7 separate regions of the Homo sapiens genome follow, and regions 2, 3, 4, 5, 6 and 7 are each linked to region 1. Evidence: promoter capture Hi-C in 16 types of primary human blood cells and fetal thymus (Javierre and others, 2016). All regions are on one chromosome and are shown on one strand. The core of a region is centred on a gene start or on the middle of the fragment in contact, and the rest is flanking DNA. Distances in the headings are between cores, read along the strand shown.

Region 1 (3,105 bases), core at 332-2,831:
TTCACTTCTGCAATATATTAAACACACATGAACACAGTGTTTTCAGTTTGAAGCAAGATACTGTGGACTCTAAAATATCCAGTAACTATATTTAGTATGAAGAGTGGATGTTTATATCTAGTTGGCCAACACATTGATTCTAGTCATCCACTTAGGAAGAAGAGGGTGTGGCAAATCTGCAGCCTAGGAAAACACAAACTCAGTTTCTTCGTAATAGATACTGATTCGTTTTGTTTACAAAGATTTTAAAAAACAGTTATGCATTCAAATACTTTAAAAACGAAAATAACTTTATGGTTTGATTTATTTCCGTTGAATTTTAAAGAACTTTGTAGCAAGGTTTAAGATTGCTTAAAGAGCCTGAGTTCGGATTCCTAAAATAGTGCATTGGGAAGGAAGCATAAATCTCTAGGATATTTTCTTCACATTATCTTCAGACATGACCAAATGAAGTGTAACTACCCTTACACTCTAAGAGAATTAAACTATAATGACATATGTGGCATGAAACTTTAGTCTTTCTCTGGAAAAAACGGGAGGAGGGAAGGTTTGGAAGAACTAGAGGATACTAGTTTCATCATGAATTTGGTGATTTGTTCCAAAGTAAATTGCAATAAAAATGAGGGGTGGGGAAAAATGATGGAAAGATAGCTGTGAAGAGCTTTACTTAAAATTGTCTTAGCTGTTTAGCTAGGAACTGTAATTAGAAGGACTGGAGGATGTATTCCGCTGGCTTTATTCTCCAGGCTCTACGGGCCCTCCAATTTGAATAAACCTGGAAAACTCTCCTGACCTCTATTTCTTTGACAAAACATCTTTCTTTCGTGGTGACTTCCAAGGGAGGAAATTGGTACCCCAAGCTAGCCGTGAGGACCCCACCACATGCCCAAGGCATTGAACGCCAGACTCCCTAAGGACTCAGGGATTCTAAAAGTCCCCTCTCAAATCAGCGCCTAAAATACGCCTGTACAGCCACGCGCTACCGCTCCCAGCAGCGCGGGACTTCGGGACAGGGACAAGGCGGACGCTAGGCGTGCGCCCCCGGGGAGCCCCCACGTTCCGGCCACGCCCACCCTGGCCCTGGGCAGCCGCGCCCGGGAGGCCTGGCACCGAGGCGGGCGGGTCCCCGAGTTAGGGGCCCGCGAGTCGGCTGGGCGCCCCCGCCTCTGCCCGGGCAGTGCCCCGCCGAGTGCTCAGAACTGCGGACAAATAGGCTGGAGGGCCGGGCCGCGGAAGGCGTTCCCACACCGGCCAGTCTCCGTCCACCAGGAAGCAAACTCCTCGTACCTCCCTGGGGACCGAAAACTGCCGGTGCCGCCGCACCCGTCGCCGCCGCCGCCTGCTCATGGAGAGCCCGGGCTGCCGCCGCCGCCGCCGCCGCCGCTGCCTCATCTATGAGTACCGCCGGCTGTCTCGGCCTCCCCCGGCGTGAGTTCTGGGCTCTGGCATGGCCTCCATGGCAGCCGCCGCGGCGGGAGCCACAGCAGCTCCAGCGCCCAGGCCCAATCTCACTGGACCCACGGAGCCAGGACAGTGGGACACGTCGCTTCTTATTACGGAGGAAGATTCGGCACGACCTCCGCCCCCCTCCCCCCAACCCCCCCGTTTTCAGCCGCCTGACAGCGCAGCTGCGCAGGCGCGAAGACGCCCCAGCCTAATGTGCGTGTGTCGGCTGTGTATACAGCATCCAGATTCGCCCAATGGGAACCAGGATCAGGTGTGGGGGGCGGGACCTCGCAGAGAGGGGCGGGGTTCCACTGGTAGAAGGTGGGTGGGGAAGCCGGAAGTGGGCAGAGTTTGCACGGAGGCGGAGCTTTATTGGCAAACCTGATTGGCTTTTTGAGGTTTGTACCATTTTAGGACTTGATTTTAGTTTGCTTCTGGGTCTTGTTTTCTCAAATTCTTAACCTAGAAAGAAAGCTTTGTTTTCTCAGTAAATTACGGTTTTTTAAGCGTTTAAGTATTTACTTAGAAAACAGTTGAATTGATCTGTTAAATGCCAGCTTTAGTGTTCAAGTTAATTATTGGCCAATATACTGTAACTTACAGTGGAAGTTAACCCCATTTTGAAAAATTAGATTGTTTTAATTCCATTGTGAAGTTGAAAAAATTGGGTTTTGGAGATAATAAGGTCCCACACAGCAAGTGACGGAGCTGGAAATTACAGTTAGGACAACTTAATGCTAGTTTGTGGGCTCAACCACTATTTCTGTTTATTAGGGCCGAGTTTTTGTATCTCCCGTAAAGAAGCAAGGCCCTGTATGGCTCTGCATCTGGAGAACACAGGCCACCCTGCAAAAACTACCTCTCCTTGCAAGTAGGCATGGAGATCTGGTTGAGATTTTCCCCATCCAGCCTTTCAACAAATAATGAGGGTCTGGAAAGTTAGCTCTAACGTTCAGAACACGTGAGGGCTAATGAGAGAGCTCAAGGCTATCCTAGTAAATCAGTGTGGTTTTCCGTCACAGGCTGAGCCTGGGAGAGGCTGGATGCCTTCTTGACCGGTGTGATGGTCGGCCAAAGCTATGGAGGGGAACTTCCTCATGGATCTCTCTAAAAAAGTCTAGAAATGGAAGAGAGACTTCCATTTCTTGAGTTTTGGCTCTGCCCAAAAAAGAATAATTAATAGCTCTGGCAAAGCCTGCTCTTTTTAGTTTCCTGTTTTTTCTTATTTCTTATGGTATTTTATAGATGAGGAAACTGAGGCTCTTAGAGATAAACTAGTGTGTTGGAAAACTTGCAAAAAGTTCACTCTCAATATTAATCCTCTCCTACAGGTAGAAAAGCCCTTTAAAAATGTTTGTAAATGTGGATTATGTGTTTAATTATAAATCTCTCACAAGACATGGAGTTCATTTTATACTGATTAGGTCATTCTCTTCCTGAAAACAGCCATAGTATGGTGGATGACACCATTTCTGGAGAATAGTATTGAGATTGCTCATTAAACTCTGCCGAGTCTCAGCTAGATGGAGGAAGCATGGATTCCTTGAATACTTGGATAACTCACAAACATCACTGAGGCCTTTAACTGAAATTTCCATTCTGCATCTTTTCCACCGTCTTCAAAATCTGACATCTGAGTTGTAGGGTTTTTTTAGATAT
Region 2 (3,105 bases), core at 371-2,870, 400 kb before region 1:
AAGATGTTACCACATGTGCTACATTATACATTATGTACGGGTTTGTTGATGGTTGTTGTTTAGTCACCTAAAAAAAAAGAAAAAGAAAGAAAAGAAAAAAGCAGCATTTTAACTCTAGTGGTCAAAAAATTTCATTCTCTTAAATTTAGCCTTCTATTCCTGTTCCAGCTAATCAGGATCACTTAGATTTTAATGCTATCATCTGACATATTAGCTATGTCTCCCAGCTTCATCATTTGCCAATTTAATGAGTATGTCATTTTAACAAAATAATTTTAAAATGTTGAACCCAACTTTTCAAAGACACATTACTAGAGATATACCTTAGGCACTATTTGAACACTGCCTTCAAACTAGGTACAAATCCAGTTCCTGCATTTTTAATGTACTATGCCTTGAAAGCATGTTTATATTTTAGTGTGAAAGCTTTAAAAGATCAAAAGCCTGCAAGGCCAATAGAAATTAATTTCTAAAGATGAAATTTTTGAGTTGTGAGAGAAAGTGTTCTGCCAGGAGAGTTCTTCTATTGTAGGTGTCTGTCTGTTCTGTCTATATAGCCAGTATAAGCCTATACTGGCTAATCACATCCTTACCTAGGTTTTTAATTCCTTCTTTCCACAATGGTGATTGAATTGTGCTGAAAATTTATTAAAAGTATTGCCTTGAGTGAAATTGATTTGGAGAGATATGACCTGCTGATTTCTTTTAAAAATAAATTCTAATATATATCATTTCTCATGCAAATATCCGTGGTGAACAGCTCCATGTAAACAGTCCCAAAGGGTTCCAGGTAATCATGAGCACTGTAACAATACAATATTAAAATGATTTCCTCATGTAAAATCTAGAAGAAGTCAGAGCTTCCAGATATTAGGCTTGATTTTTAGCATGCACAAGTTACTATGATCATCTTCATTTCAGATTCAGCAATTTTATTTCCATTTTTACAACTCTCCTATGTCATTGAATCTTTCCTGGAATCTACAGCCCTGACTCAGTGAAAACAAAGTGAATCACAAGCTATAGTTGTTTTATTTTTAGTACACAGCACAATCCTGAGAGAGTTGAAGATGTTCAGAGACAAAAACAACCACCACCACCTCATGTAAAGCCAAAATAACACTCCCTTGTACCTTAAAGTGAGGATCTCCTGTTGCCTGAATCTTAATAGATGTCAACAGAGACGGGGCAGCCATAACACTTTCAGGAGAAACTGTGCACTCTCTCTGTACTTTTCTGGCGCCTTTTTCAGTTTCAGAGAAAAAGCACAAATGGCAAAGGAGGAATACCACATTCACGAGCCAGGTTAAGCGTCTACCACACAACTTTATTACTATTACACACAGGCTGTGTATGGAATGCATGAGTAAAATGGAAAACAGGGGTGGTACCTTTCCAGCCAAAAGAAGCCCTTTTTTATCAGAGATGAAAAAGTCTGCTAAAATTATGCTGAATTACAAGCATGTGAAAAAATGGGTTCCAAACACCACTCTAAAGCTATTTTTAAGCAAAGTGGTAACTACTCATTTGAATAATAAAATGTTTGCCAATATAATTAATTCTACTTTTCCTGCTATTTTCTTTTAAAAGTTTTATATTTAACCCAGAATGCTATAAGAATTCAATATAAACTAAATCTGAACTTAGAATATTATACCATTCAAGTGTTTCTTTTCCTCCACATGAATTTTAATTTAATGAAATCACATAACACCAGGCCTTATTATTTATTTATTTATTTATTTAAGAGACAGGGTCTCACTCTGTCATCCAGGCTGGAGTACGTTGGCATGATCATAGCTCACTGCAACTTTGAGCTCCTGGGTTCAAACACTCCTCCCATCTCAGCCTTCAGAGTAGATAGTCCTGTAGTAGGACAACAGGCACATGCTATGCCCAACTAATTTTTTTTTTTTAATTTTTGTAGAGACAGGGCCTCACTCTGTTGTCCAAGCTGATCTTGAACTCTTGACCTCAAGTGATCCTCCTGCCTTAGCCTCCCAAAGTGCTGGGATTACAGGTATGAGCCACTGCACCTGGCCAGGCCTTATTTTTATAATACACTGAGTGTTTTTGTGTAAGTATGCCAAGGTAACTATAGTTCAGTAAAAAAACACTGTTTTTTTCTTTACCTTTGGAAAGTAAGTGACTACATAGCCTAATCTGTGATGGGGATTGACCACAGCAAGGGCAACTGCCACCAGAGAGTGATACCACCTCAGGACATCATGGGATAAAAAATATCACTCCGTAGAAGTAACTTCAGCATAACTCATATAAAACAAACAGAGACAGAGTTTAGGTGTCACCCAGGCTGGGATGCAGTGGCACAATCATAGCTCACAGCAACCTCAAACTCCCGGGCTCAAGGGATCCTCCCGCCTCAGTCTCCCAAGTAGCTAGGATTATAGGTGTGTGCCACTATGTTCAGCTAATTTTTTTGTTTGTTTGTTTGTTTTTTGTAGAAACAGGGTCTTGTTATATGGCCCAGGCTGGTTTCAAACTCCTGGCCTCAAGCCGTCCTTCAGTCTCAACCTCCCAAAATGTTGGGATTACAGGCATGAGCCTCCATGCACAGCCCACTGAATGATCTATTTTTAATTTAAATGTCACACTATAGCAGTGGCATTTGCTGAGCTTCCTGATGGATTCATGGCCCAAGTGTAAGATACAGTCAAACAGAGAATTTTTAAGTTGTATTTATTATATAATTGTAGAAATACGATATTTTGGGGTATTTTTACTTGTGTCATTGTACCTTGCTATCAAAGTGTGGTTTGTAGATCAGTCTCATTGACCTCACTTAGAAGCTTGTTGAAAATGCAGAACCCAGGCCCCATGCCAACTCTGCATTTTAAATACAACCCTGGTTGATTCATATGCATATTAAAGTTTGAAAAACATTATTATAGTACACTTTTAAAGTATCTTCTAGCTCTGATCCTCCACAGCCAGAATCCTGTACTCCCATTTAAATAACTAAAACACATTAATAATAGATGTTTTATTGAATCCTGCATTCCTTTTAAATTAACTGGAATAAAAAATTGTATGAACTTGTCAAATAATGAACAAATAACTGACTATGGTGGCAAGAATGAGGGT
Region 3 (3,105 bases), core at 218-2,717, 390 kb before region 1:
TTTGAGACAGAGTCTCGCTCTGTCACCCAGGCTGGAGTACAGTGGCACAATCTCAGCTCACTACAAGCTCCGCCTCCTGGGTTCACGCCATTCTCCTGCCTCAGCCTCCTGAGTAGCTGGGACTACACGTGCCTGCCACCATGCCCGGCTAATTTTTTGTATTTTTAGCAGAGACAGGGTTTCACCACGTTAGCCAGGATGGTCTCGATCTCCTGACCTCATGATCCGCCCTCCTCAGCCTCCCAAAGTGCTGGGATTACAGGCATGAGCCATCGTGCCCGGCCGAATATTTTTTATTTAAAAAAGAGATTTTTTTATTAAAAAAATAAACAGCAAAAGATACATTGTATTTAAATTTTAAAGAAAAACCTGCACAAAAGCACTGAAATGGCTGAGTAGAACTGTGCTCAACAACTGATTGGTCACACATAGATATGACTGTCATTAATATTCTAACCGTATCTATTAAACAGACAGAAACCATTCCCAAAAAAAAGACATTTCTCTTATTTTTAAAGACTTCCAAAGGAAAAAAAAATCTATATTTTTTTCCATCTGTTAAGAGCCCTCTTTTTTAATAAGAGTATCCACTTTTTATACCACTAGGAAAGAGTATACTAACCTGCCTTAGTTCATTCCCAGAGTATGGGTCTCAGCAGGAAACAGGAGACTGAGCTGAGGTTTGGAGATAACTTAATAAATAAACTATCTACAGATGTGTGAATACGGTTAAGAGATGCTACAGGGATGCTGAGCACTTTGGAACTGTTACCACCCCTCGGCCTGAAGTGATAAGCTGGAGCTGGAGTGCATTAGTCCATTCTCACACTCTACAAAGAAATGCCTGAGACTGGGTAATATATAAAGAAAGGAGGTTTAGGGCACAGCAGCTCACATTTGTAATCCCAGAACTTTAGGAGGCCAAGGCAGGTGGATCACTTGTGGCCAGGAGTTCGAGACCAGCCTAGCCAACATGGTGAAACACCATCTCTACTAAAAATACAAAAAAAAAAAAAAAATTAGTTGGGCGTGGTGGCACACGCCTGTAATCCAGCTACTTGGGAGGCTGAGGCAGGAGAACTATTTGAACCTAGGAAGCAGAGGTTGCTGTGAGCCAAGATCCTGCCACTGCACTCCAGCCTGGGTGACAGAGGGAGATTCTGTCTCAAAAAAAAAAAAAAAAAAAAAAAAAAAAAAGAAGGAGAGAAGGAAGGAAGGGAGGGAGGGAGGGAGGAAGGGGGGAGGGAAAGAGAGAGAAAGAAAGAGAGAAAGAAAGAAAGAAAGAAAGAAAGAAAGAAAGAAAGAAAGAGAGAGAAAGGAAGAAAGTATCGGAGGAACCAGCCCCCAATATTTCAACATAGGTTCTTTTCTATTTTCGCTAAGTGTCGGCCGGTCTGAGAAATAAAGAGAAAGAGTACAAGAGAGAAATTTTACAGCTGGGCCACCAGGAGAGACATAACATATTGGCAGCTTCCGTGATGCCCACCTGAGCTGCAAAACCAGCACGTTTTTATTAGCAATTTTCAAAGGGGAGGGAGTGTACGAATAGGGTGTGGGTCACAGAGATCACATGCTTCAAAGGCAATAAAATATCACAAGGGCAGAGTCAGAGTGAGATCACAAGGCCAGGGCAAAACTAGAATTACTGATGAAGGTCCATGTCCTGCTGGGCACACATTGTCACTGATAAACATCTTAACAGGAAACAGGGTTCAAGAGCAGACAACCGGTCTGACTAGAACTTCGCCAGGCTGGAATTTCCCAATCCTAGCAAGCCTGGGGGCGCCACAGGAGACCAGGGCATATTTCATCCCTTATGTACAACTGCATAAGACAGACACTCCCAGAGCGGCCTTTTAGAGACCTCCCCCTGGGAATGCATTCTTTTCCCAGGGCTGTTCCTTGCTGAGAAAAAGAATTCAGCAATATTTCTCCTATTCGCTTTTGCAAGAAGAGAAATATGACTCTGTTCTGCCCGGCCCTGCAGGCAGTCAGGCCTTATGGTTATCTCCTTGTTCCCTGAAAATCACTGTTATCCTCTTCTTTTAGGATGCCCAGATTTCATGTTGTTCAAACACACATATTTTACAAACAATTTGTACAGATAACACAATCATCACAGGATCCTGAGGCGACATACATCCTCAGCTTACGAAGATGACAGGATTAAGAGATTAAAGACAGGCATAGGAAATTATAAAAGTATCAATTTGGGGAACTAATAAATGTCCATGAAATCTTCACAATTTATGTTCTTCTGCCATAGCTTCAGCCTGTCCCTCCGTCCGGGGTCCCTGACTTCCCGCAACAAGGAAGGAAGGAAAGAAGGAAGGAAGGAAGGAAGGAACGGAGGGAGGGAGGGAGCGAGGGGTTTAATTGACTCAAAGTTCTGCATGGCTGAGGAGGCCTCAGGAAACTTATAATCATGGCAGAAGGGGAAGGGGGCACATCTTACAGGGCAGCAGGTGAGACAGAAGTGAGAGCACAGGAATAAACCACCATTTACAAAACCATCACATCTCGTGAGAATTCACTCACTATCACAAGAACAGCATGGGGGAAACCGCCCCCATAATCCAATCACTTCCTTCCCTCAACATATGGGGATTACAGGTCCCTCCCTCCACACATGGGGATTACAATTGGAGATGAGATTTCAGTGGGGACACAGAGCCAAACCATATCATGGAGTGATGGGGAAGTTAGGGGAGTGGAAGCCAGTAGTTGCACAGCTGCAGCCCCAGCCAGAACACAGCTCCAAGGCAGGGATGGAAAAAAGAAAGAAATGCCCTGATCTCTCCTCTCTACCTCCCCACTTCCTCCATCCCCTCGCTGGTGTTTCTTACTGCCTGAACCAACAGGAACTCGACTAGAAGAGTATAAGAAAGTACAATGCAGTACAAGAAAGTCTACATAACACAGTTTATTGGGGTCCATCACTAGGAGAAAAAGGAGAGCAGGGAATGGTGGGAAATAAATCTGGAGTAGAGGAGGTGGGGAAGCAGAATTATCAGCCCAGCATTCAAGTATCTTATCCATTAATAACCAGTAAAACAACCCATGTCCCATTTCTCTAAGAACCTTCTAAGAGATGTCCCTGGAGAG
Region 4 (3,105 bases), core at 374-2,873, 360 kb before region 1:
GAGTACTACTTGAAAGAATGACAGAAGGCACCTGACTTTGTTTTACATAACTTGAAACCTATTCAGCATGAAAAAAAAACAGCTACACAAAAGACATTCCTCAAAAACATTGTAAGACAAATGGACAACATGCTGCCACCTAGGACAAAGAATTACAATTGAGGCAAATAATAGATGCAGTGAAAGCCTGCAAGGAAAAGCTGGGTAGAGTTTCTCTGGGAAATTATTCAAAAGTGTCTCCATATACTGAGGAATTTAGAAGCTATGCACGTGCCTAGGACAGGATGCATGTTCAAAAACAATCTAAAAAGACCCTAAGCTTTTACTTCTGGCTTATCTTTGGGCTCAGCACAAGCAGGGAGTGAAGGCTTAGGCAGAGTTATAAATGGCCTCGCTAAGTACTGAAAGCATGCTCTAACACACAGCCAATCTTCAAAGGTTGGAAGAGGGTTTTTTGTTGTTGTTGTTGTTGTTGTTGTTTCTTTCTTTTCTTTTATTACTTTATTCTATTCTAGGATAGCTCCTGGTGATCAGGAAAATATCTATCAAAGCACCCCTGAACACAAGCTAAAGGAATAGAGACATCAGAGACCACACAGGACAAAGAATACAGACTTTACAAAGATCATATAGAAAAGTCACTAAACAAGCAAACAACTATATTTCACAGGAAGCAATAACAACAACAACAAATCCTAAGAAGAGAGAAGAATCTGATGTCCAGAGTTAGCATATTTTAATATTCAAATGTCCAGTCTCCAGCAAAAACATTATGAAGCATGCAAAGAAACTAGAAAGTATGGTTTATTTACAGAAGAAATTAATATAAGCTCTCCCTAAAGAAGCACAAACACTGAACATATTAGACAAAAATTTAAAATCAACTGTCTTAAATATGCTCAGAGAGGTAAAGGAAACCACAAAGAGTTAAAGGAAACCAGAAGAATGATGTGTTAACAATAGAAAATATCAACAAAGATAGAAATTATGAAAAGAAACCAAGTAGAAACTGTGAAGCTGAAAAATACAATAACTGAAATGAAAATTTACTAGAGGGTTGCAATAGCAGATTTGAGCAGGCAGAATAAAGAATGAGTGAACTTACAACTGTTGACTACAATCAAAATTATCCAGACTGAGGAGTATAAAGAAAAAAGAAAGACCAGGCGCGGTGGCTCACACGTGTAATCTCAGCATTGTGGGAGGCTGAGACAGTAGAATCACTTGAGCCCAGGAGTTCAAGACCAGCTGGGGCAACATAGTAAGACTCTGTCTTTACAAAAATTAAAAAAAAAAAAGTTAGCTGGGTATAGTGGTATGTGTCTGTAGTTTGAGCTACTCGGGAGGCTGAGGTGGAAAGGCCTCTTGAGCCCAGGAGTTCATAAGGCAGTGAGTCATAATTCTGCCTGTCAGCCTGGGTGACAGAACCAGACTCTGTCTCAAAAAACAAAAAAGAAAAAAGAAAAAAAATGAAGAATAATTATTGGAGTCTTTAAAAATCTATGGGAATAATCAAGAGTACCACCATACACATTACAGGAGTCCCAGAGGAGAAGAAAAATAAAACAGTGGAAAAAGATGTTGAAGAAATAACCAAAAGCTGCCCAGATTTGGTAAAAGACAGGAACCTATGCACCCAAGAATCTCAACAAACTCCAAGAAGGATAAATATAAACAGTTCCACACTGAGACACATTATAATCAAATTGTCAAAAGACAAAGACAAAAAAAAATCTTAAAAGTAGGGAGAGGAAAGATTTGTCACATACAAGTGATTCTCAATAATAAGAACATCTGATTTCTCATCAGAAACTATGTAGGCAAGAAGGCAGTGGGATAACATAGTCAAAGTGCTGAAAGAAAAAGACTATCTACCAAGAATTCTATATTCAGCAAAGTGTCCTTCAAAAACAATGGAGAAATTAAGACATTAGCACGTAAATAAAAGCTGAAGGAGTTTGTCACAAGTAGACCTATACTATAAGAAATACTAAAGGGAGTTCTTCAGGCTTAAATGAAAGAAAACTAGATGGTAACTAAAAGCTCTAAGAAGAAATCAGGAAGTTAGATAAATATAACTACATCAGTAAATACAAAAGCCAGGATCGCTATGTTTTTGGTGTGTAGTTCCCTTTTTTTATATGATTTAAAAGACAAATGCATAAAATAATTACAAATCTATGTTAATGAACACACAATGTATATAGATGCAATCGGTAATAATAGAAACATACAGGAGAGGACTCAGCTGTTTAGGGGCAGAGTTTTTGTATGCTGTTGAAACTAAGTTGGTATCAATCCAAACTAAGGTAGTATAGATTTAGGTGGAAACAACCCAAATGTCAATGGAGGAACAGATAAATAAAATGTGGTATACACACACACACACACACACACACACACACACACAAAATATGGAATACTGTTTAGCCACAAAAAGGAATATAGTACTAATCTACAACATACAATGTTTGATATATAAACCTCAGAAAAAAACTGTGAAGGAAGCTATACATAAAAGGTCCATATTGTAATATTGTATGATTCCATTTATATGAAATATCCAAATAGGTAAATTCATAGAGACAGGAAGAAGATTGGTGGTTGCCTAGGACTGTGGGGAGGGGAGAAGAGAGAGTGACTGCTTAAGGGGTATGAGATTTCCTTTTAGGATGATAAAAAATGTTTTACAGGTGGTGGTTGCAGAACATTGTGAATGCATTAAATGTCATTGAATTGTACACTTTAAAATGGTTATTTTAAGTGAATTTTACCTTAATTTTTTAATTAAAAGCCCTGACCATGCTGAAACATGAAAATGTTCATTTTGTATTACAATCATACACCATAGGAAGTTTTCTTAAAGAGGAAACAGAAAATAACAGCACACACTGCAGAGTAATGTTAAGTAATGCTTTTAAAGCTTTTTGTTTAATTGAGTTTTGTGTATTTATTAAGTTACAATGTACAATATTTCTGTGGGTTGCAAAAAAAAAAAAAAATGGAAAGCCCCTGAAAATAAAATCCTGCTGCTACACTCTTTTAATTATTCTTCTGTGGGAGGTATGGAAACATGCAATTCTGATCTTTTCTTAAAAAAAAAAA
Region 5 (3,105 bases), core at 240-2,739, 340 kb before region 1:
TGAGCCACCACGCCTGGCCCCAAAATGTCTTTCTAAAGAAGTGTTACGCTTTATATTTTGTATTCCAGGATCGTTCCTGATTTTCTGCTACATTGCTGCCCATCCCTTCTCAGTCCTCTTTGCTATTTCCTCTTTCTTTCCCCAGAATCAGTCCTAAAAATGTTGGAATTACTGCAGATCAGCCCTAGAAATTGTTTTTCTACCTACACGCACTCTCTAGGCTGTATTTCCAGTGTCATAGTTTTAAATTCCATCTCTATGCTGATAGCTCTCCAATATGTTTCCAGCACAGAAAATTCTTCTCAACTCCACACTCATGTGCAGTTGTCTATATGACTTTTCTATTGATATCAGATAGGCATCTCAAATTGAAAATGTGAGAAAATGTGAGATTCTTATTCTTGATTTCTTTACCATACCTTCTCCATTGTCCTGTATTAGTACATTGTAATACCATTGGCCCCAGTATTTAGGCAAAATTTTAGATTCATCTTGGACTCTTGTTTCTCTCTCATGCTCCACATCCAAACCATGAAGAAATCCCATTGGCTCTACTCTCCTGAATGCGGCCTCTTCTCACTGTTCAACCACTACCTCCTAGTCCAGGGATGACTGTCATAGCCTAGTGGTCTCCCTGCTTCCAGTATTGCTTTTCTCCTTTTTCAGTCTGTTTTCCAGACAAGCTAAAATCTTCATATAGTCTCATCTCTACCCAACAGTCCCTTAAAATATCAAATTTTGTCGTTCTGTTCAGAATCCCCAGTAACTTGTCATCTCAATAGAAAACACTAAGCCTTTACCATGGTTTACCGAGCTGTACTTAGTTAATCCTGGAGATCTCCAACCTCACCACTTATTCCCTCTCACTTACTCCTTTCAAATTATGCCTTCCATGCTGCCTACCTGGATCTCTGCGCTGACTCTCTGTGCTTAGAAGAATCTTTTTGCTGATATCCATGTGACTCATTGCTCACTTTATTCAGTTCTCTCTTCCAAGACGTTCCCTGACTGTTTTGTCTTAAAAAGCACCTCATTTATCTAATGCCTTTTATTTATTTTTCATAGTAATTACCACCACCTGACATTTTCATATTGGTTTAGATGCCATTATCCTGCTTGCCTCCACCCCCAACCCTAACACACACACAAGAATGTTGGCCCTAAGAGGGGCAGCTGTTTACTTTCTCACTCAATCTCCACTATCTAAAACAGTGTGTAGAACTCAACAAATATTTGTTGAATGAATAATGAATGAACATTTTGATATCTTATATAAGCAGTATAATAGTATGGTACAGGATTATTATCTCCATCTGACTGGTGCGTTGATATATCTCAGGTAGTTCCAAATGTGGGAGAAGGCAAAAAGAGAGTATTATTTACTGTTACTTCCCCAAGTCCTACCTATAATTTTTTACTTTTTTCAGAAAGAAACATTTAAAAGGGGCTTAAAAACAGAAGCCATATTTGTGTCTTGGGTGAGGGTAAGACAAGATGGTGGATCCCCTCGCCATTACTACTGAGACCCATGGCTTATAAACTATCCTACTTATAATTTTTTATTTTTATGTATTTACTTTTTGAGACAGAGTCTTGTTCCATCACCTGTTGAGGCTCACTGAAGCCTCGACCTCCCAAGCTCAAGTGATCCTCCCACCTCTGCCTCTCCAGTAGCTGGGACTACAGGTGTGTACCACCACACCCAGCTAATTTTTAAACTTTTTTTTGGAATCTTACTATGTTGCCCAGGCTGGTCTTGAACTCCTAGGCTCAAACAGTTCTCCCGACTTGGCCTCCCAAAGTTCTGGGATTACAGGTTTAAGCAACTGTCCTCAGCCATCACCTATAATTTTTTAAATGAACATAATCAACATGTGCCATAACAAAGACTGTCCCATTTTAATGTCTTTTCCTGACTCAGTATAAAACTACCACTGGAGAATTTGTTTTTATTTGTAAATGTGTAACTTTACATATAAAGTAAATTGCCACTCAAATTATTCCATAAATTTTGACTTTTTTTCTCATCAGAAGTAGTTCAATCTTAAATTTTATGAAATTTATATTCAAGAATTTCTTTGCATAGATTGTCATAAAATGTTTTCCATTAGAATGATATTTTACTTGTAGTAAGATAATAAAGAGTTCTCTGAGCTATTCAGATGTTTACTTTGGAATAAAATACTGTTAAATCTAGATTACCAGCAGTTACCTTTTTAGTTTGTAGAAAATTGGAATACAGGTCTAAACTTTACAAAAAAAAAAAAAAACTCTTAATTTTTTAAGGACAAAACATAGCTAACTCCTTTTCACTCCAAGTTACTGGGCTTTTTGCAGGACTTGGTGTTTTAATCTGTACCTTGGGATTTTACATGATTTTTGTCCCCACCAGTTGAGATTTGGTGATAGAGTATTTGAAGTATAATTGCTTCTTGATTGTAGAACAAATGCAATACAACCTGAATTCAGTCTTTTCTTTTCTGTTTCATTGTATACAAGAATTTTACCTATTGCTATTTAGAATAGAATGTGAATCTTACATCGATGACACTAAGGAATATTTGGATTACTTAGACAAGTTTTTTCTTTTAATGTAAGTTAATTTTGTAATGCTTGTGCTGCAAGTAATACAGGAAATATGTTCTTTGTTTTATACTTGATTAGGTAGTTCAGCTACAGGAATGGATGATTAAAAGCATCAATAATAATACTGCTATATGTGTAGAAGGAAAATTGATGTAAGTATACTATTTCATTATTCTTTTAATAAAACTTTAGTTATGTGTAAGCACTTAAGAGTTAATGCATGAGAAATAGCATCCTCCACAAAGCAAAGACCTAACAAGGTTATGAACTGAAGGCAAAAAAGTAAAATTACTGTGCAGGTCCTAGCCATGTTGATTGCTACCAGCTTTCTTGTTTTTGCATGTTTACTCAAGTTTTTCTTAAAATAATGACAGTTCAAATTTGTATAGTGGTTTATTTTTTTCTGAGGTGCTAATAAGTGGACTGGTATTATCTGCTTAATTATATATGATCAGTTAATATTTACTACATGCATTTCAGTCCAGATTCTCACATCTAAATTGGGACAACCAGATATAA
Region 6 (3,105 bases), core at 247-2,746, 320 kb before region 1:
AAGTATATTTAATGTCATCCCTAGAGCAACTTCTAAAAAAACTATACAAAGAAATAATTTCAAACATAAATTAAAATACTGGAAAATCAAATAGCCCAAAAGAAGGCAAAGAAGAAGAGAAGTGGAGGATTTTTTTACATGGAACAAGCAGAAAACAAATAATAAAATTATTGACCTAAATCCAACATAATTAAATTAAATGGTCTAAACATACCAATTAAAAGACATATTGTCAGAATGAATTTAAAAACATGATCTAACTATATGCTGTATACAACAAACTCACTTTAAATATAATGATATAGGTAGGTTAAAAGGATAGAAAAATACCGTCTAAACACAAATCAAAAGAAAGCTTGAGTGGCTATATTAATATCTGTCAAAATAGACTTTAGTAGGAAGAAAATAACCAGGAATAAAGAAAGACATTACAAATGATAGAAGGGTCAGTCACCAGGAAGGCATGAAATTCCTAAGTGTGTATGCACCTGACAATAAAACCTCAAAATACATGAGTTAAAAACTGACAAGTGAAAGCAGCGGACTAAACTACAAGGATAGTCAAATCCACAGTTATAGGAAACCACACTGCTCCTCTCTTGGTATTTGATAGAACTGACTGAAAATTAGCAGGGATATAGAACTGAACAACACCATCAGTCATTCGTATGATTCACATTTACAGAACATTCCACCCAATAATAAGAAAAAGAATAGGTTATTTCCAAGGATAGGTTGATCATTCATCAAGATAGATCATAAAACCTCTTAACAGATTTAAAATAGCTGAAATCATACAAAGCATATTCTCTGATGATAATTGAATTAAACTACAAATCAATAAAATAAAGATAGGAAAATTTCCAAGTGGTTGAAAATTAAATAACTTATTAATACGTATAACTAATCTGTGGGTCAAAGAAGAAGACTTAAAGGAAAGTAGAAAATATTCTTTTATTTTATTTTATTTTATTTATTTATTTTTGAGACGGAGTCTTGCTCTGTCGCCCAGGCTGGAGTGAAGTGGCGCGATCTCTGCTCACTGCAAGCTCCACCTCCCAGGTTCACACCATTCTCCTGCCTCAGCCTCCCGAGTAGCTGGGACTACAGGCGCCCGCGACCACGCCGGCTAATTTTTTGTATTTTCAGTAGAGACGGGGTTTCACCGTGTTAGCCAGGATGGTCTCGATCTCCTGACCTCGTGATCCTCCCGCCTTGGCCTCCCAAAGTGCTGGGATTACAGGCTTGAGCCACCGCGCCCGGCTTCTTTTATTTTTTTTCTTTTTGGAGACAGAGTCTCACTCTGTCACCCAGGCTAGAGTGCAGTGGTACGATCTCAGCTCACTGCAACCTCCGCCTCCTGGGTTTAAGCAATTCTCCTGCCTCAGCCTCCCAAGTAGCTGGGATTACAGGTGTGTGCCACCATATCCAGCTAGTTTTTGTATTTTTAGTGGAGTTAAGGTTTCACCATGTTGGCCAGGCTGGTCTCGAACTCCTGACCTCAAGTGATTCACCTGCCTTGGCCTCCCAAAATGCTAGGATTACAGGTGTGAGCCACCAGCCCGGCCAGATATTCTTAACTGAACAAAAATGAAAATATATCAAAATTTGCAGCATGGGCCTAGGAGTTCATAAACAACTTTAAAGGGTTGCTATGCCAAGCTCCTCCCTCTCCCTGATTTCTGTCGTACTTTCTACATAAACAAATTAGGGTGCATTCTTTCAGTGGATTACTAAGCAGTAAAAAGGAAGAACTATTGATACATACAACAACCTGGTTGAATTTCAAAGGCATATTGAGTGAAAAAAGCCAACTCAAAGGGTTATACACTATATGATTCCATTTATATGACATTCTGGAAAAGTGTGCTACACACTTTTAAATGACCAGATTTCATGAGAACTCCATCAGAAGGATGGTACCAAGAGGGATGTTGCTAAATCATTCATGAGGAATCTACCTCCGTTAACCAATCACCTCCCCCTAGGCCCCACTTCCAATACTGGGAATTACATTTTGATATGAGTCTTGGGTAGGGACACATATTTAAACTATATCAATAAATAAGAATTATTTAAGCCAAGGATTCAAGACAAATGGACCTTAGAATAGCATACACAAAAGTATAAAGAAAGAGGGCATATTTGGAAATACTGAAAGAATGGGTGTGGGGTATGTGCCTGTAGTGCCAACCACTAAGGAGGCGGAGTCAGGGGGATCGCCTGAGCCCAGAAGTTGGAGGCCACATTGAGCTATGATAATGCCCGGCACTCCTGCATGGGTGACAGATTGAGACCCTGTCTCTTTAAAAAAAAAAGAAAGGTAAATAAAGAAAGCTAGAATGAATGGAATACTGAAAGTTGACCAAAGAGCAGTACAAGATGAGACTAGAGAGTTGGGCAAGGAACAATACAGCGTTACACTAAGGATTTGGGGTTTTATGCTAATAATGAAACAAGTTTTAAACATGGTGTGATATGTTTAAGTTTGTCTTTTTAAATTATCTGGAATAACCTAGAGGAGATGTGTTAAGTACTAATTTCTTATTAAATACATTATTATTTGTGTTATGTAATAGTTATTTTAGACAGTCGTAGATTTAGAAATTAGCCACACACACAAATAGAGAAGCTTGAGTTCCCAAGTCCTTCTAGTTGTTCACTTTAGAACACTGTGGAATGATTAATTATGTAAAAGAATTCATTAACAAGTATTTAATGCTCATAAGTATTATGCTTTTCTGCATGGAATAATATGCTGTGGTCAGCTGGTAGCTGTTCACAAGAGCTGATTGTTAAATTTTGGAGAATTTTACAAATTGAGTGTTAAAGTCATTAAAAAATTATATAAACTTAAATTATTTAAAACAAAGATAATGCTTAAAACTCATTACTTCCTAATTATTTTCCATTTTATTATATATATATGCTCTTGAGACTCTTCACCTCTGTGGTATGGTGGAAATACTATGTAATTGTGTGCTATCACACGTGTTTTATCAACTCCACAGTCAGTGACATGTTGGTAGCTTGACATCAACTACAATGGGAGTATTTACCCTATGAAAGTCATCAGACTTTATAAATCAGGACTGTTTAACCCCG
Region 7 (3,105 bases), core at 446-2,945, 300 kb before region 1:
TGATTTGAATTACATGAGCTCTGAAGTCCCCGCCAGATTTAAGGTGAGGAGAGCTCTGCAGTGAGGCTGGTTCAACTACCCAACAATGTAATAGGGGTAAAAATGAGGCCGAGAATAAAGGACTCACATAATTCAAGGCTGCTTTAGTACTAGACTGACTAGAAGAAAGATGTCATATATATTGCAGATACAAGAAAAGCCTTCTTTTTTGGTTTGTGTTTGTTTTTGTTTGTTTTTGAGATAGAGTCTGGCTCTATCGCCCAGGCTGGAGTGCAGTGGCACGATCTCAGCTCACTGGAAGCTCCGCCTCCCGGGTTCACGCCATGCTCCTGCCTCAGCCTCCTGAGTAGCTGGGACTACAGGTGTCTGCCACCATGCCCGGCTAATTTTTTTATATTTTTAGTAGAGACGGGATGGGGTTTCACCGTGTTAGCCAGGATGTTCTTGATCTCCTGACTTCGTGATCCGCCCCCCTCGGCCTCCCCAAGTGCTGGGATTACAGGCGTGAGCCACCGCGCCCGGCCCCAAGCAGAGCCTTCTTAATGCCATCACAGACAACAGAATGGATCAAAACGGTAAATATAATAGGGTCAACATAATGGGCCTGCATTCAGTAATTTATATTAAAAAGAAACTTTCTAAGTCCAAACCAATATACCATTTTGAATATATTTCAGCAACAAAAAAGAGTAATGTAGCTGGGAGTTTGTATTAGTCCATTCTCACGCTGCTATGAAGAAATAACCCGACTGGGTAATTTATAAGGAAAAGATGTTTAATTGACTCACAGTCCTGCATGGCTGGGGAGGCCTCGGGAACTTACAATCATGGTGGAGGGGAAGCAAACGTTTCCTTTTCCACATGGCAGTAGGCAAGAGAACTGCAGAGTGAACAGAGGAAAAGCTTATAAAACCATCAGATCCTCTGAGAACTATCACTAGAACAGCATGGGGGAACCGCCCCCATGAGCTAATCACGTTCCAGGAGGTCCCTCCCCAATATATTGGGATTATAATTCAGATTACAAGTCAAGATGAGATTTTGGTTGGGGACACAGCCAAACCATATCAGAGTTCATATTAATAGATTTGACAGTACTTAACTGGGACACACCTTTGGTCAGATAAACATTCAGTTAAGTTTTCTACTTTCCTAGTTACTGGGTCATTTATCTCACAACCCACCCATCACCCACACCTTACCAAGTACATGTATTTAGAATCAGTACACTTAAAAGTATACTATCTACACATAGGGAAAATCGACAAGTTGGCTGTAGTCATAGACATGTCAACTTTACTATTTATCACAACAGTACAACTTTAATTTTGGGAAACATTCCAAAGTATATCTCTAGCTTAGCTTTTACTTTCTTAAACTATCCTTAGTAACACTTTTAATAAACCTTGTTTTATTTAATAAGAAAAATTAGTTTTATAATCTAGTCAAAATGATCACTGAACATCAGATTTTTCTTTTTTAATAATTTCTATAATCTATAAATAAAAATGTATACAATATAAAATATTTAAATAAAATATTCTCTTATTTACAAATAAACATAAAACAGCAATGATTATTGAAGTGCATTTAATATTGTGAGAGGTCTTTGAAAACCCCATCTTGAGCAGCTTGATTATATATCAGATTTCAGTCTATCTTGGTTAAGATCATTTGGTAACATTTGTATGTCAAATACATAGTGAATATATCTATAGATCTCCTCAGCCTTCTGATGAGTTACTTGTGCATACATGGAGATTTCTTGAAGTGAGCTGAAAAATAAATGAGACAAAATCATTACACTAGGACTTTTGGCTTTTATAAAATTTAATATTACCTAAAGAACACCAAACACAGTAGCCTTTAAGGAAATCATCTCAAGCATTATCCGCCCAGCTGATATGTCTTGAACATTAGTTTGGATAAAAGAGCTACTTGTTTCCTTTCCTTAAAATTATCTAGAATAACAATTTCAACATCTTCAATGAACTGAATGTTTTTGTGTTGCCCAAAATTCATATGTTGAAGCCGTAATCCCAATGTGATGGTATTTGGAAGTGGCAACTTTGAGAATTAGTTGATAAAGGTGGATATCCTTGTGCACTTTTAAGAAGAGGTCAAAGAGCTAGCTAGCTCTATTTCTGCCATGTGAGGATACAATGAGAAGGCAGTAGTCTGTGACTCAGTAGAAAGCTCTCTCCAGAACCCAGCCATGATCTCAGACTTCCAGTATCCAGAACTGGCAGAAATAAATTTGTGTTGTTTGTGTATTTTATCATTGCAGCATGAGCTAAGACAGTATCTGATGTAGGCCTTTAATTAAAATGAACTACATTCTAAAATCTCCCTCTTCAAGCAATATAATGATCACAACTAGTAAAATACTCATTTTTCTTGTTACAGAACTGAACAGCCCAGAAATGTTAGATTGCAAGGTCAAAGGAAACTGCTATTTATTGTCTCTCCACAGAGCTCTAAGCTTCTCAAAGGAAATCCCTACACCTATTTTTTCTTTTTTCTTTTTTTCGAATAATGTCCCTTAGCTTCATACAGTAACTAATATATGTTGGCAGGCAAAAAATGTTTACTGAATAAAATAATCTAACAGGCATGATGCCGCTTAAATTTTTTTAACATTAAACTTCTATGGAATGCTTTTACGAATCTTTTAAAAGTAATCATTTAAAAATATTACAACAGACATACCTGTTAGCCATCCTTTTCACAGATGAAAACTGGTGACACATATTTAATGCAGTTATATAACTTATATTGGGAATACTTAAATAAAACTGGAGTGCCTCACTTTTATTACTATTCACCACTGTTGGAACATGAATACCAACATTCTTTCTTTGTTCCACTAAAGACAGTTCCTTTAGCAAATCTGCGGTTTCTTCTTGGCAGGAACTGAAAAGAATTCGGATTCCAGCGCCAATTAAGGTAGTCAGCAGGCTGTCATAGCTCTTTGTTCTCCTAAACATCCTTGATGTGTCTCCTAAATATTCATATTTAGGGAAAGGCAAACTTCAGTAACTAATATTAAGTAGAATTATTAATATACTTTATTTTATTAAAATCCCAAGATCTACACCATTGAGC

The links. Contacts are between HindIII fragments. The CHiCAGO score rates a contact against its expected background, and 5 or more counts as called.
Region 2: a contact is called between a fragment that was not itself captured here and the fragment with the promoter of DORIP1 in region 1, in 1 of 17 cell types (neutrophils). The highest score is 8.6, in neutrophils.
Region 3: a fragment that was not itself captured here is called in contact with the fragment with the promoter of DORIP1 in region 1 in 16 of 17 cell types (non-activated CD4 T cells, naive CD8 T cells, total CD4 T cells and 13 more); the score reaches 12.6 in non-activated CD4 T cells.
Region 4: a contact is called between a fragment that was not itself captured here and the fragment with the promoter of DORIP1 in region 1, in 17 of 17 cell types (activated CD4 T cells, non-activated CD4 T cells, total CD8 T cells and 14 more). The highest score is 36.4, in activated CD4 T cells.
Region 5: a contact is called between a fragment that was not itself captured here and the fragment with the promoter of DORIP1 in region 1, in 12 of 17 cell types (non-activated CD4 T cells, activated CD4 T cells, total CD4 T cells and 9 more). The highest score is 14.1, in non-activated CD4 T cells.
Region 6: a fragment that was not itself captured here is called in contact with the fragment with the promoter of DORIP1 in region 1 in 17 of 17 cell types (activated CD4 T cells, total B cells, total CD8 T cells and 14 more); the score reaches 17.4 in activated CD4 T cells.
Region 7: a fragment that was not itself captured here is called in contact with the fragment with the promoter of DORIP1 in region 1 in 13 of 17 cell types (fetal thymus, total CD8 T cells, activated CD4 T cells and 10 more); the score reaches 11.9 in fetal thymus.

What each region holds. Positions count from the first base shown.
Region 1 is chr14:44,895,751-44,898,855 of GRCh38, reverse strand. DORIP1 (dopamine receptor interacting protein 1) reads right to left here and starts at 1,581. Exons shown (of 5, transcript NM_001017923.2): 1 at 1,288-1,581. RefSeq lists silencers at 927-1,246, 1,267-1,396 and enhancers at 763-1,262, 1,887-1,936. The HindIII fragment of the contact is 3,873 bases long and covers 1-1,922 here.
Region 2 is chr14:45,296,844-45,299,948 of GRCh38, reverse strand. No RefSeq gene overlaps it. Among named protein-coding and RNA genes, the nearest start is that of MIS18BP1, 45 kb to the right of the region's middle. The HindIII fragment of the contact is 2,384 bases long and covers 429-2,812 here.
Region 3 is chr14:45,280,664-45,283,768 of GRCh38, reverse strand. No RefSeq gene overlaps it. Among named protein-coding and RNA genes, the nearest start is that of MIS18BP1, 29 kb to the right of the region's middle. RefSeq lists a silencer at 1,676-1,876. The HindIII fragment of the contact is 7,998 bases long and covers 1-3,105 here.
Region 4 is chr14:45,257,003-45,260,107 of GRCh38, reverse strand. The region is part of intron 1 of LOC107984674 (a long non-coding RNA gene); the gene reads right to left. Among named protein-coding and RNA genes, the nearest start is that of MIS18BP1, 5.4 kb to the right of the region's middle. The HindIII fragment of the contact is 2,604 bases long and covers 322-2,925 here.
Region 5 is chr14:45,237,281-45,240,385 of GRCh38, reverse strand. MIS18BP1 (MIS18 binding protein 1) reads left to right here. Exons shown (of 17, transcript NM_018353.5): 5 at 2,665-2,738. Among named protein-coding and RNA genes, the nearest start is that of MIS18BP1, 14 kb to the left of the region's middle. The HindIII fragment of the contact is 5,284 bases long and covers 1-3,105 here.
Region 6 is chr14:45,219,317-45,222,421 of GRCh38, reverse strand. The region is part of intron 11 of MIS18BP1 (MIS18 binding protein 1); the gene reads left to right. Among named protein-coding and RNA genes, the nearest start is that of MIS18BP1, 32 kb to the left of the region's middle. The HindIII fragment of the contact is 2,277 bases long and covers 358-2,634 here.
Region 7 is chr14:45,198,540-45,201,644 of GRCh38, reverse strand. FANCM (FA complementation group M) reads right to left here. Exons shown (of 23, transcript NM_020937.4): 22 at 2,710-3,001; 23 at 755-1,775. The coding sequence ends at 1,637. Among named protein-coding and RNA genes, the nearest start is that of MIS18BP1, 53 kb to the left of the region's middle. RefSeq lists an enhancer at 2,719-3,105. The HindIII fragment of the contact is 1,579 bases long and covers 906-2,484 here.